2 separate regions of the Homo sapiens genome follow, and region 2 is linked to region 1. The links are contacts of gene promoters, found by promoter capture Hi-C in blood cells and fetal thymus (Javierre and others, 2016). All regions are on one chromosome and are shown on one strand. Each heading gives the region's core, a stretch centred on a gene start or on the middle of the fragment in contact. The rest is flanking DNA. Distances are from core to core; before and after follow the strand shown.

Region 1 (6,995 bases), core at 2,011-4,510:
ACACATATATGGAATAGCTGTGTCCTGTCCCTTCAGTTTCTTGGACATTCCCTGAAATTGCTTCTTTCCCTTGCTTATCTCTCTTTAGACACCTGATCCTATTTCAAACCTGGCACAGTTTCTTCATCTACAGGACTTGATTCATTCTCCCAAGGCCTCCTTTCTTAAGTGACTTGATTTTAACCAGGCATCCTTTGTCAATCGCCCTACCTGGAAAGACTCAGGCCAGAATGACAGAAGAACCTTCATTTTTTGCTCAAATGGAGTAGCATCTAAAGACAAATTGTTAAAAATGATGCAGACAATATCTTAACTAGTAATAAAACACCTATGTTAATACTAGGTGTTTTATATATTTCATATATATATGAAATAAGTAACAAAATAAAGATACATTTTGTTCTGGTATTGTAATAACAAGCTGATGAAAGAGCTTTCCAGGTTGAGGAAAAGGAATGAACCTTTCAGACAGAAGTGGAAAGAAAAATCAGTGAAGGAAGGGATGTATGTGGACGAGGATTTAGCTTGAGAAATAGCCCAAGAAAGAAACCTCCATCAAATTATTAGGAAAGGGCAAACTCTGTGAGGGGAATAGAAATAGAAAGGGACTTAATACAGAAAATTAGGTGTTGACAAAATCATTGAAAGAGCTAGAGGAGCACAAGTCAGGTGCCTCTGGAGCTATGGTGTTCAAGAGCATACAACCATAGCTCTTTTCTGGGTTAAAAGGAGCGCCTCTGCTAGCTCCTGCCTCTAATTTCCTCTCAATACCCATGAGGCTATCCATGACTCCGGAACACGAAGTGAGCGTGCCAAGTAGAAAAGACGGCAGGAAGATGGCCTCTGTCTCATTTCCAGCTAATTAGTTTTGGTTCTGTTCCTGTTTATATCATTGTTTTCATGGAAAAGTTCACCTTAAGTTCTAAATCATTAACTTAGAAACCAATCTTTCAAAAATATTCCATTTGTAATCTGGAGTCCTTGTATCCTTAAACCAACCAACAGGACAAACAAAAATCATCTCCCTAAATAAAAACTAAATAAAATGAGTCCTTGGGATATGTTCCATAGTTGTTAATTTCATTTCTTCCTCAAATATCTTTACACATGTAATACTATTTCTACCATCATTACATGGCAATGCATAATTTCATTTACAGAACTTGAAAAAAACTAGAAAACAAGGCTTTGTGATAACATTACCAAGAAACGTTTTATCAGAAAAGCTTGCTTTTTACAACAATGGGTTGGGTTGCACCAATTTTTTGCTTATTTTTGTCTTCTTGACTAATTCTTCTTTGGTGCTAATGTAGTAGGAAATGCCTATCTCCGGTGTGATTTTCAATTATTGTGTATGGGGGCTTAGAATACATTAATAAATCTTGAGGCAAAAACAGAATGATAAAAATAACACTTCAAAGGAGTACAGGAGAATGAACTTTCATGACATTCAATGAAGGAGGCAGGTATGCAAAGTGATATGTTTTCTAAGATGTACTTTTCATTTTTTGTTTTATCCTTTTACTTTGTACCATAAGCAATTTTGGAAAGACCACAACTATTAGTGATGTCTACATAATCATACTAATGAAGTACACAGAAGCTTAAATGAAGTATTTTTATATGCTCCCTTACAACTATTTGAAAATTTACTTTGGAAACCCCTGCTCAAATGCAACCCCTCCCCACCCCCAAAGGAATTCTTGTGCTGTCTTCTTCACTTTTCCAGTTAAGCAATTTAAGTTAGAGGAAATCAAGCCCTTGAGCAAATGAATAGTTAACGGGAAAAACCACTAGGAAGGGAATCCGAAGAACAAGCTACCAAATTATTTGCTTGAGTCACTTTCTCTTATATTGTCACAGATGAAAAATTACACTCCACGTGGTGATCAAACCTAACGCTAAGGCATATTTTGTGTGCCACACAGTATTACTCTGTTTCCTAAGTAACCTATTGAAACAATGTAAGGTATACATCTATTAATGCATTTAGTGATGATACTGGAATTTGTGAAACGTGACAGAAAGGACAGATGAAGAAAGATGAGGAGAGACAGGTATTAATTGTCCTAACAGTACAGGCTGTAATAAAGGCCAATAATCATTTGAATTCCTGCTCCTTAATGTGAGTCTAAAGAGCGGCTTACCTCAGGTATTTGGAAAGTCTAAATACTGTATTTGCTGTAGAAAATTCATCCAACATACAATTCAATTTTTAAAATTAAACCTTTTGCCTAATCTTTAAGATATTTGATGTTATAATGCCCATTATCACACTTTATTTAAATGAGATAAACTCAGAGAGTTTAAAAAATTACGCAACTTCTCTTTTCCCTTACTATGGCTGGCCTCTTATAACCGAAAGCAATATTCTTGCCTCTCCACTTTTTAACTGAAGCTTTGATCTCATCTGTATTTATGAAGAACGTGCTCTGGGAGAGTCCCTGTCAAGACATTCATTGTAACACCCGCTCCTACTCATGCTTTCAGCGCTGCCCGTGGACGGAATCCACCCACACCTTCCAGACACGCTAGGTGTGGGCTCGGAAACGCAAGATGGAGGGCGGGAGGGGAGCCGGCGTCTCCTAAACCTGGCGCAGGGCACGGACTCGAAGTTGAAAAAGAAGTGTTTACAAGTGAGGCTTTTAAATAAATCACCGCTATGGAGGGCATTTCCTCCGAGCCCTGGGCGCCAGCCTGAGAATCCTCTGCCGGACGCCAGGGGACGAACCACGCTGACCCCGCCAGACACGCGACCCCGGGGCCGGCGCTGGCGTCTGCACTCGCGCGACCCCGCCGCTCCTCCTGGGAGCGCCGTCTAACCGCTCCCGGCGACGACTTCCCAGAGCGCCGGGGAGCCAGTGCCCACGCGGGGCAGAGCTGCGGCGCGGCCCGCGGGCCGGGCCCCTTCCCTCCAACGCCGGGCGGGGCTCGCGGCCCCCGACCCGGCCGCTTCGCCGCCGCCCCTCCCCGCGCTCACCTGCTCGCTCTCCTTCGGCCGCTGTCCGCGCCGCCGCGGGCTCGCCCCGGGATCCCACCCGGTCCCTGCCGCCTCCCGCTCCGCCAGCGCGTCCCCGTCCTCGTCGCGTTCCCCGCCGTCGCCGCCCCGCAGCAGCTCCCCGGCTGAGCACATCCCGCAGCCAACTCCTACCGCCCCGGACAGCCGCCGGAGGACCACGCCGCGACGCACCAGGCAGCGCCGCCGCCCGAAGGCTGCCCTGGGATCCGCCGCACCCGCCGCTGACAGGAGCCGCCGGAGCGCGCCCCGCCGGCCTGGGCGCCTGAAGTACCAGCCCGGCCCCTCCTGTCACTGGCTCGCCCAACCCCCGGCCGTCGGGGCGGAGCCGTACAGGGGAGGGGCCAAGACAGGGGGCGGGGCCAACGGTGTGTTGGGGGGCGGGGGTGTGTGTGTGAGATTGAGAGAGAGGCCGACAGACTGAGAGAAGAAGGGTGTTGTGTGAAAAACTATGGACATACACTGCATGAGGGAGATTGTACATGAGAGAGGCTGTGTGTATGTATGAGGGATATTGTGTGTGCGTAAGAGACCGTTAGAGAGTGTGAGAGAGACGCTGAGCGTGATTTGTGTGTGTGTGTGAGAGAGATTCTATATAAAAGAAACTGCGTATAAGAGATTGTATGCACTTTGGGAGGCCGAGGCGGGCAGATAGCTTGAGCCCAGGAGTTGGAGACCAGCCTGGGCAACCCCATCTCTACTAAAAATAGAATTAGGCGGGCGTGGTGGCGGCAGTGTGGTCCCAGCTACTCAGGAGGCTGAGGTGGGAGGATCGTCTCAGCGCGGGAAGTCGAGGCTGCAGTGAGCAGAGATCACACCACTGCACTCCAGCGTGGGCGACAGAACCAGACCCCGTTTCAGAGAGAGAGAGAGAGAGAGAGAGGAGGGGGGGGGGAAAGAGAGAGAGAGAGAGAGAGAGAGAGAGATTGAGATTGTATGTGTATGCAAGAGACTGTGAGAGAGAGATTGTATGAGGGAACAACAGAAACTGAGAGAGATCAAGTGTGAAAGAGAAATTACTTGTGTGAGAGAGCCAGTGCATATATTTAAGAGAGAGCGCATTTGTATAAGAGATTAGTGTGTGTGGGTTTGTATGTGAGAGAGAAACACACACATGCACCCAGTTACACTCTCCAGCAGAGTACCCCTGTTCTTGCCTGAGTATCTGCCCGTCCTTTTCAAGGAAGACACATTTCACTGTCCCTCTTGTTCCTTTAGCCTCCTTTCCTAGTGTCTCACTGAAGGTCTGTGTATTTGTCCCTTTCTGTTGAGTGCTTCCTAGTGTGTGTTGTTTGTTGGAGCCTTGGGTCGTTTGATGGTGTATCAAATGATGTATCTTTCTGTAACTGGGTAAGAATATGTCTTTCTCAGTGGGTGGTGAGGGGAATATATCCAATTGATAATTATTTTTTGTACTACTCCATCCATTTTATTCAAGGAAAATGGAAGGGTGTTTAAATAAAATATCACTTTTTTTTCTGTGTATGCCTTATCTGTACATTGGGAAAACGATGGGTTATTGTACAGGTAAAATACAGAAAAGTAAATATGGAAAGTAAACATGTGTACACATGGAGAAGAGTAAGAGTTATTTGGGATCTTCTATTAAAATGTTTTCAGGCCCAGAGAAGGAATTAAAATAGGCAGAATCTCATAGGCTTATTTTAAAGAAGTTTCCTGTTTTTTGTAGTCAGGAGATTCTCAGTCTTTCTCACACACCCACAATCTCTCATACACACAATCTCTCTCATACACACATGATTTCACATACATACAGTCTCTCTCACACATATACAACCTCGCGCACACACCATCTCTCACACATGGTTTCTCACACATGCCCTCTCTGATTGTCTCTCCTCCACAAACAATCTCTCTAGGGGCCAGAAAATATGCCGTTGGATATCAAAAATTAGAAAGAAAATGAATCTGGTTCATTCCCTTTCTTAAAAGTCTTTAAAACTCCAGAAAAGAGTATTTAATATTATATACATACAATCAGAAACAAATATCACCATGGGAACCCAGTAGCCTTTCTGATGGGCCTCATTTTTTTTCCCCTGAAGGCAACATTTTCATTCTTGGAATTTTGGTTTGGCTATTAGTAGTGTTTCTTATAAAAACCAACTTTTTTTTTTTTTGGCTGGGCGTGGTGGCTCACGCCTGTAATCCCAGCACTTTGGGAGGCCGAGGCAGGCGAATCACAAGGTCAAGAGATGGAGACCATCCTGGCCAACATGGTGAAACCCCATCTCTACTACAAATACAAAAACTAGCTGGGTGTGGTGGCACATGCCTGTAGTCCCAGCTACTAGGGAGGCTGAGGCAGGAGAATCAGTTGAACCCGGGAGGCAGAGGTTGCAGTGAGCCAAGATCACGCCACTACACTCCAGCCTGGTGACAGAGCAAGACTCCGTCTCAAAAAAATAAAAAAATAAAAATCAACTTTTTTGGATAAAACTTTGGAATTATATACAGCAACCCAGAGAACATCAGCTCTTTACTGCCAACCCCATGAACTAAGGCACATTTTGAAGTTCTCCCTCATAGCGTTTGATTGGCAACTTGATAAGCCAAACAACTATGCACTCTTCAATCAGGCTACAGTGAGCAGAAATTCCTTATATATAAGAGGACTCAGAAGGCACAGAGTATTTATATAGCTGGGCAGGTACAATACAGAGGTTAGCTTTGTTCAGCTTAGGGGACAAGTCTTACAAAATTCCTTTAGAGTATACTGTCTGGTCTTTTGTAGATTCCGGCTTCTTGAGTCTTTGAGAAGTGTATTAATTCAGTTTTTTAGTAGGTATTTATTGAACGCTACTAGGCTTTAGGCCCAGGTCTAGGTCCCTATTCTCTTATTGAACACTACTAGGCGTTTGGCCCAGGTCTAGGTCCCTATTCTCATGAAGCTTCATTTTAATCCAATTCTTGTGTTATTTTCTTGGCAGAAACCAAGAACTTTTACCGAAGAGTAGCCAGAATCCTTGGATCTCCACCTAGGACTGAAGGCAGAACCTTTTTTTTTTTTCTTAATATCATTTACCTTTAATTTAGTGAGTGAGTTTTTCTTTAAGCTGTTATTCTTTTGTTCATAGAGTCTGATTTTTCCTGGAGATCTGGAGAACCACCTCTTTAAATAAATCTAGCATTTTACACAAAAGACATTAAACAGATTACAGCCTAATCTTATGGGAGGAGAGGGCTGTTTTCACTCTGCTGCACAATGTGAAAAATATACACATAAAGCTAGCACTGCCAGTTTCCCATGGGAAATATAAGATTGTTATTACCTAGGCAACTATAACATGTTGGTCTCAAATCATATGTAGTGGTTTTTTTTTTTGTTTGTGTGTGTGTGTGTGTGTGTGTGTGTTTTGGCAGAGTGTCGCTCTTCCACCCAGGCTGCAGTGCAGTAGCATGATCACAGCTTACTGCAACCTCCACCTCCCAGGCTCAGGCGATCCTCCTGCCCTGCCTCAGCTCTCTAAGTAGCTGGGACTGCAGGTGTGTGCCACCATGCCAGGCTAATTTTTGTATCTTTGTAAAGATGGGATTTTGCCATGTTAGCCAGGCTGGTCTCGAACTCCTGCGCTCAGGTGATCCGCCTACCTTGGCCTCCCAAAGTCAAATCATATGGAGTTTTGTTGTGATTTTATTAGTGTGTTTTGTGCTTTCCCAGAAATAAATAAGTGCAAGAAACAGATGCACGTCTAAGGAATGGCCTGTCTAGTGCAAATGTGGCTGGTGCAGTTGCTATGGGAACAAGGACTTTTAATCCTTCACTTTCATGCCTTTATTATTTTTAATGTTCCTCTATTCTTATTTCATTTGTGCATCTTTCCAGAGGGAGAAACGAGCAAATCAGAGAGTTCTGGACTCAATTGGTAATACAATCTTAGAAAAACAAATGCAGTTATTTGTGGAAACTACCCCAAATTACATTTGTTGGTTTGATTTTTGACACACTATAATGTTA
Region 2 (6,995 bases), core at 2,088-4,587, 6.1 Mb before region 1:
GGGAGACAGCGGAGGACCACTCATGTGTGAACGGCCCGGAGAGAGCTGGGTGGTGTATGGGGTGACCTCCTGGGGGTATGGCTGTGGAGTCAAGGATTCTCCTGGTGTTTATACCAAAGTCTCAGCCTTTGTACCTTGGATAAAAAGTGTCACCAAACTGTAATTCTTCATGGAAACTTCAAAGCAGCATTTAAACAAATGGAAAACTTTGAACCCCCACTATTAGCACTCAGCAGAGATGACAACAAATGGCAAGATCTGTTTTTGCTTTGTGTTGTGGTAAAAAATTGTGTACCCCCTGCTGCTTTTGAGAAATTTGTGAACATTTTCAGAGGCCTCAGTGTAGTGGAAGTGATAATCCTTAAATGAACATTTTCTACCCTAATTTCACTGGAGTGACTTATTCTAAGCCTCATCTATCCCCTACCTATTTCTCAAAATCATTCTATGCTGATTTTACAAAAGATCATTTTTACATTTGAACTGAGAACCCCTTTTAATTGAATCAGTGGTGTCTGAAATCATATTAAATACCCACATTTGACATAAATGCGGTACCCTTTACTACACTCATGAGTGGCATATTTATGCTTAGGTCTTTTCAAAAGACTTGACAAGAAATCTTCATATTCTCTGTAGCCTTTGTCAAGTGAGGAAATCAGTGGTTAAAGAATTCCACTATAAACTTTTAGGCCTGAATAGGAGTAGTAAAGCCTCAAGGACATCTGCCTGTCACAATATATTCTCAAAGTGATCTGATATTTGGAAACAAGTATCCTTGTTGAGTACCAAGTGCTACAGAAACCATAAGATAAAAATACTTTCTACCTACAGCGTATAAACTAGCAAAATTTGAAAGGATTTCTGGTAACTAAATGCCAGCTGGACATACAACCTATTTTATCCAACACATTAACATATCTACTATATTTGCTTTTAACAAGCACCTCATCATAGTCCACGTTCCCCGACCATGATGTAAGAGTGCCACCCACTGACACTTCCCTGTAACTGACTTATACCTGCAGGTTTTCCCAAGCCCAACCTGATACAATCCAATCTTAAAATATACTAGTCAAAATGCTTTCCTGGCCTACACATTGAAAAGTTCTAATACATACAGCAGTTATAACATATGCCAGGCACTGCATTAGGCAGCTTTGCACATCACTGACAATTTGCAAAAGGCCAGTAAATCTTATGGTAGTAGCCCTTGTTTTCAAATGGGGGAAAACAGGCTTGCCTCAAAGTGAGACCAGTTGGTGAAACTGATTCCAAACTCCAGAAAAAATGCTGATTTTTTTCCCCATGGTTCTCCTACCTAAATGATTGGTTTCCCTATGGCTATTTCTCCAAGAGTTAAGGGATAGCTGCTTAACTATGCACCTTTACAGAACATTCTTAGCAGTAATGCTCAAATTTAAAAGGCACACTCAAGATACTTCCATGTCATGGATCCTTCCCCAGGTCCCAGTAGTATAAATATAGGGAAGAGGTTAGCATGAACTTACAAATTGTTTTAAGTAATCCTCTTGAATGCCAGTCATTAAAGGACTTTGCCCTTCTACATCAAATTACATCCTTTTCACAAATCCCCATTTCTGTAATAACTGGTGCAAACCTAAAGGTGCTTTATAGTTTTACTACTTTGCAGATTTGCAATGCTGCATATAATGCAGAAGAGCATTAAAAACTTTTGTAAAAACTCATGATTTTGATAAACTTTTAAAGTAGCGTTTATATGTAAATAGAACTACACATGGCACACACACTTGCACAAGGGCTTCAGAAAAACGTGCAATATAGGTGAGAAAAATGTCTATTGAAACTTTCTCACAGGCTGCCCTTATAATTAAACTAGTGTTGGGGCAAGCAACATCTGTTTCAAGTAGATCAGGGACTAGCAAACCTAAAAGGCAGCAAGCAGCCTGCAGTTTGCTCAATCCTTAAGAATACATGGTTCATACAACATGCTTTTACTATGTCTTAAGTGTGACTTTTGAAAGATACAAGTGTTCTGTGCATATTTGTGTAAATAAATACATAATTTTCCACCTTGTATAACTGCCTTAAATTTTTGTATGGTTTAAAAAGAGTCTGCTGTCTCCCTTGGGGGTAGCCTGGTAATTTTTATATTTTACATTTTTCACAAAGGCTGCAATTACCTTAGAACTGTACTCACACTACTTCCACATGAGCGTGTAACACTAAATAGGAGGTATTATGCTATTAACTACCTTTCCGTCTATTAATCACTCAGTCAAGGAACAATGAGTAGCCACATGAATTAAGCATTTTATTTAATTATCACGGACCACCTTAAATATTACTTTACAAAATTCAGGCCTATATTTAAAATAGGTGTCCTGATAACTTCCAGGATATTATTCGGAACACCCGTTTCCCCAACTACGATAAGTCCATTGCCGGATGCTGAATAAACTTCGCCCATTACCACTTGGATTTCTTGATAGTCTGCAAGAGAAAAAAAGCATTATAAAACTCCGAGCTGTGTACTTACCTCACTGTTTTGAGATCTTATCAGCTAATTCAGTTGGTTGTTAACTCAAACTACAAAAGCCAGCAAAACGGGCCAACTTTAGCTTTCCAACGTCCTGCCGCTAAGGCGTTTCAGATTAACTCAGAAATATCAAAAAAGAAATGTACCTTATGTTTCCATCATCCATCGTAATGTGTTCAGCTCAGCTTCCTAGAAACATTGAACAACGGTTTAGAAATTTTGCCCAATAACCCGGCACCCTCTAGGTTTTTAACAGTGAATGTTACTTGTGCAAGTCAGAATCTGATACCAATTAAATGGTGACAGCTTTGCCAATAAACAAGGATATGCTCTTCCATGGCTAGGAAGGGAGACTGCCACGGCTGACAGGTCCCAAAGATACATGGAGATTCACAATCCAGAATTAACCAGCAACCAAACTGCTACAGGTTATTACTCACCATCTGGCTCAAACTGACGGTTCTCGGGGTGCTAGGGCACAAGAGCGACAGAGTAGACTCAAGATGGCCACATGACACAGACGGCTGAACAGGCTTCACCGGAGTCCCCGAGTGCACGGAACCTTTCCCCGAGGGCCCACGGCCCACGCACGCCGGGGTTCAGGGTCCAGGGCTGCACGTGGACGCCCGGCGACCTAATGAGCACTCAAGTCCGCGCATGCTTGTAAACTTAAGGGTTTCCAAAGCCGCCCCCGACCTACCAATATCCTGACTGCGCTGCCTTTTAGGTAAGGCAGTAAGTTTCGGCCCAATTATCATTTTAACTTACGAAAGACAACTACGTACTTTCACCTAATCCCGACGCTTCCCGAATGTGAAAGGCCGAGGCCTTCGGCACACGCTCTCTTATAGAACTGATGACGCTATTCCGGGGGAAGCGCCGCGAGGGGCGGAGCCTATGCTGTTTCACTCCCCGCCCCGCCTAGCCCCGCCGCGGCTCCACCTGTTCCGTCTACCACCCCCTTCGCGGCTCCTTTCCCCCCTCCCCCGCACATGGTCCACGTCTGAGCGGGTCACCTGGCTCCGGATCCAGACGCATGCGCACATACGAGAGCCAAAAGGTTCTCGCATAGCGAAAGATCCTGACGCTTACCGGTGTAGGTCACGAAAGCGAGGGGGATTTTTTTGGTATTTCCTGTTTAGGATACTTATTTTAGACAATATTAGAAAAAGGGGCCGAACGCGGTGGCTCACGTCTGTGATCCCAGCACTTTGGGAGGCCGAGGCGGGCGGATCACTTGAGGTTAGGAGTTGGAGACCAGCCTGGCTAACATGGCGAAACCCCGTTTCTACTAAAAATACAAAAATTAGCCTGGTGTGGTGGTGAACGCCTGTAGTCCCGGCTACTCGGGAGGTTGAGGTGGGAGAATCTCTTGAGCCCGAGAGGCGGAAGTTATGGTGAGCTGAGATCGCTGGTTAGCATTTTACAAATTACCTAATCACTACTCAAAAACAAGAAAAGTCTGAGAAACTATTATGCCAGAGAAAATGATGCATAATGATTAAATGTAATGTGGTATCCTGGCTGGGATCTCCAGCAGAAAAAGGACATTAATGGAAAACTAGCGAATCTGAACAAAGTGTGGAATTTAGGTAATAGTGCCAATACCGATTTCTTTATTGTGACAGATATACCATGGTATTGTAAGATATTAATGGTAGGGGAAATTGGATGAAGGGGGTGTGGGGACTCCATTTTTGCAAATTTTCTGTAAATGTAAAACAAAGTTTAACTTAAAAAAGCAATTATAACCTTACAGTCTATTATACTTTCATTTTAAGACAAAGTAGTGATTTAGTAGTGGTTTCTATCTACTTTAGTGTGAAATTTGTGGCTGAGATGACAGTATTTCTAAGTTTGACTTGAGATCAAACCCAATGAATTTAGCTGCATTCAAACCAAGGCTTTGAGCCTTTGGATATTCAGGAGAGACAATGTGGTAACAAATAAAAGAATTAAAAATTGGTTGGTAAATGAAGATTGGCTTAAGGATTTTATTTTATGTATTTATTTATTTAGAAACATTCTTGCTCTGTTGCCTAGCCTGGAGTGCAGTGGCATGATCTTGGCTCAGTGCAACCTCCACCTCCTAGGCTCAAGCGAGCCTCCTGCTAGGCGTGTGCCACCACTTGGCTACTTTTTTTTTAAGGTTTTTTTTTTTTGAAAGACAAGCCCTCACTATATTGCCCTCAGGCTGATCTCCTGTGCTCCTGGGCTCAAGTAATCCTCTTTCCTCGGCCTCCCAAAGTGCTAGGATTGCAGGTGCAAGCCACTGCGCCCAGCCTAAGGATTTTAAAGATAGAATGCAAGGTGAACCTGTTAGAACTGATCAAATGATGGCTAGGTAACATTTCAGTTCTGCTTTTGATACATGGAGTGAACAGTTCATTATAGAATATTTATTCTTCAACAATGCTTTTCCCTGCACTATATCTTTTTTCCTTTTGTGGTTTAGTGTTGAAACTGGTAGTCATCAGAAAAATTTAACATAGAATGGCACATCTGTCATATGAATGCTGAGATGAATAGGAGAAAATATAGTGAGGAAATAACCTGTGGACTTATTTCTATCTTAAAACACTTAGCAAATCTAAACTTCCAGTGTATACTAGCAGCGTGATACTTCTGCTGTAAAAATTGGTTTTGCTGCAGTAATAAAAGTATAGTGTATTGCAGTATGATCTAGTGTTAAAAAAAAAGCATAGTGTCCAAAAGAGAGGAGATGGACGTTCCCTCCTATCTATATTAAAATATTCTTGTCAGTTCTGAACATCTTGTTCAGTTGTTAAACATTTACTAGACTCCAGCAAATGTTTATTGAGCAGACATGGCCTTTGCCTCAAGACTTGAGAATATAATTGAGTAACTTACAGTTAGTGCCATTACAATGTTTTCCAAATCATTCAAAGTTCAAAGCAAAGAAATTAGTTCTTATTTTTCCCTATCCTTTATTTTCAGTATTTGATATATTTTTGTATCAACCAATGTATTAGTTATCGATTGCTGTATATCAAATTAGCCTAAAGCCTAGTAGCTTAAAAAAAAATAAGCACTTACTATCTCAAATAGTTTTTGTTGGTCAGGAATCTAAGAGCAGCTTAACTGGCTCAGTGTATCTTGTGAGGTTGCAGTCAGGATGTTGACTGGCATTGCAGCCATCTGAAGGCTTGACTGGGGCTGGTGCGGCAGGATTCTCTTTCAAGGTGGCTCATTCACAGACCTGACAAGTTAATGCTCATTGTTGGCAGGAAGCCTCAATTCCTCAGCATGTGAATCTCTCCATAGGGCTGCTTGACTGTCCTCATGATTCTCGTGGCAGCTGGCTTTCCTCAGAGTGAGTGACTCAAGAGAGGAAGCTCCAACACTTTTTATTGTGGCCTACACACCATCACTTGTTAGAAGTTAGTTATTAATGCCAGCTCACATTCAAGGGGAGGGAAATTAGCCCGTCTTGAGGGGAGTATAAAATTTTGTTGACAAATTCTAAAAGTGTCACAGTCAGGATGGATGAAGTTGTGTTGCAGTTACAGAAGATCCAAAATCTCTGTGGCTTAAAACAACAGAGATTTGTTTCTTGTCATGCTTATGTTCATGTTAGAGACCAGGCTAATGAGGCCTTCACCATTTGTAATGGTTCTAGGCAACATAAAGGGAGAAGGGAAAATAGTCATTATGTTCTTAAAGGATTCCATTCTGATGTGACATATGTTACTTTGACTCATATTTATGGACTAAAGCAAGTTCCATGGCCACACCTAACTCCAAAAGCCTGGGGAAATGGAATCCTACTGTGTGCTTAGAAGGAAGATAATCGGAAGTATTTCAATATATTATTATAGCACTAATGATTTCTACAGTGGCCAAGTTACAACTGTTTACATTATTTTTATAGTTACCTTTTCTCTATTGTTACATTGTGTATTAGTCTGATCTCACATTGCTATAATGAACTACCTGAGACTGGGTAATCTGTAAAGAAAAGTTTAATTGTCTCATGGTTCCACAGTCTGTACAGGAAGCATGGCTGGGGAGGCCTCAGGAAACATTCAGTCATGGCGGAAGGGGAAGCAGGCACATCCTACATGGGCAGAGAAGGAGGAAGAGAGAGCAGAGGGAGGTGCAACACACTTTTAAATAACCAGATCTCGTGAAAACTCACTATCACAAGAACACCAAGGGCAAATCAATGATCCAATCACCTCCCACCAGGCCTCTCCTCCAACACTGGGGATTACAGTTCGACACTGGGCAGGGACACGAATCCAAATCCAAACCATATCACACTGCTAATCTAAGATAATATGTCTGAGCTGTCTCCCTACATTTCTAATTCTCTCTTCCAATCAACTAAGTATATTAATGAAAGATTAAATTTCTGGAAATATTTTCTACATGTTAAGCACTTGTTATAGAAAGTGTAATGACTTTCCTACTGATTATCAGGTAAAATTCCTCATCCCAGGCCAACATACAA

The links. The method cuts DNA at HindIII sites, captures the fragments that hold promoters and counts their contacts. A CHiCAGO score of 5 or more calls a contact.
Region 2: the fragment with the promoter of SNHG8 here is called in contact with the fragment with the promoter of FAM241A in region 1 in 1 of 17 cell types (naive CD8 T cells); the score reaches 5.1 in naive CD8 T cells.

What each region holds. Positions count from the first base shown.
Region 1 is chr4:112,141,719-112,148,713 of GRCh38, reverse strand. FAM241A (family with sequence similarity 241 member A) reads right to left here and starts at 3,260. Exons shown (of 2, transcript NM_152400.3): 1 at 2,981-3,260. The coding sequence starts at 3,133. RefSeq lists an enhancer at 2,350-2,489 and a silencer at 2,830-3,479. The HindIII fragment of the contact is 3,530 bases long and covers 2,401-5,930 here.
Region 2 is chr4:118,275,104-118,282,098 of GRCh38, reverse strand. SNHG8 (small nucleolar RNA host gene 8) reads right to left here and starts at 3,337. Exons shown (of 3, transcript NR_034011.1): 1 at 3,307-3,337; 2 at 2,668-2,710; 3 at 2,276-2,475. SNORA24 (small nucleolar RNA, H/ACA box 24) reads right to left here and starts at 2,909; the gene lies at 2,779-2,909. PRSS12 (serine protease 12) reads left to right here. Exons shown (of 13, transcript NM_003619.4): 13 at 1-2,061. The coding sequence ends at 163. RefSeq lists a silencer at 3,510-3,559 and an enhancer at 3,630-3,809. The HindIII fragment of the contact is 13,799 bases long and covers 1-6,995 here.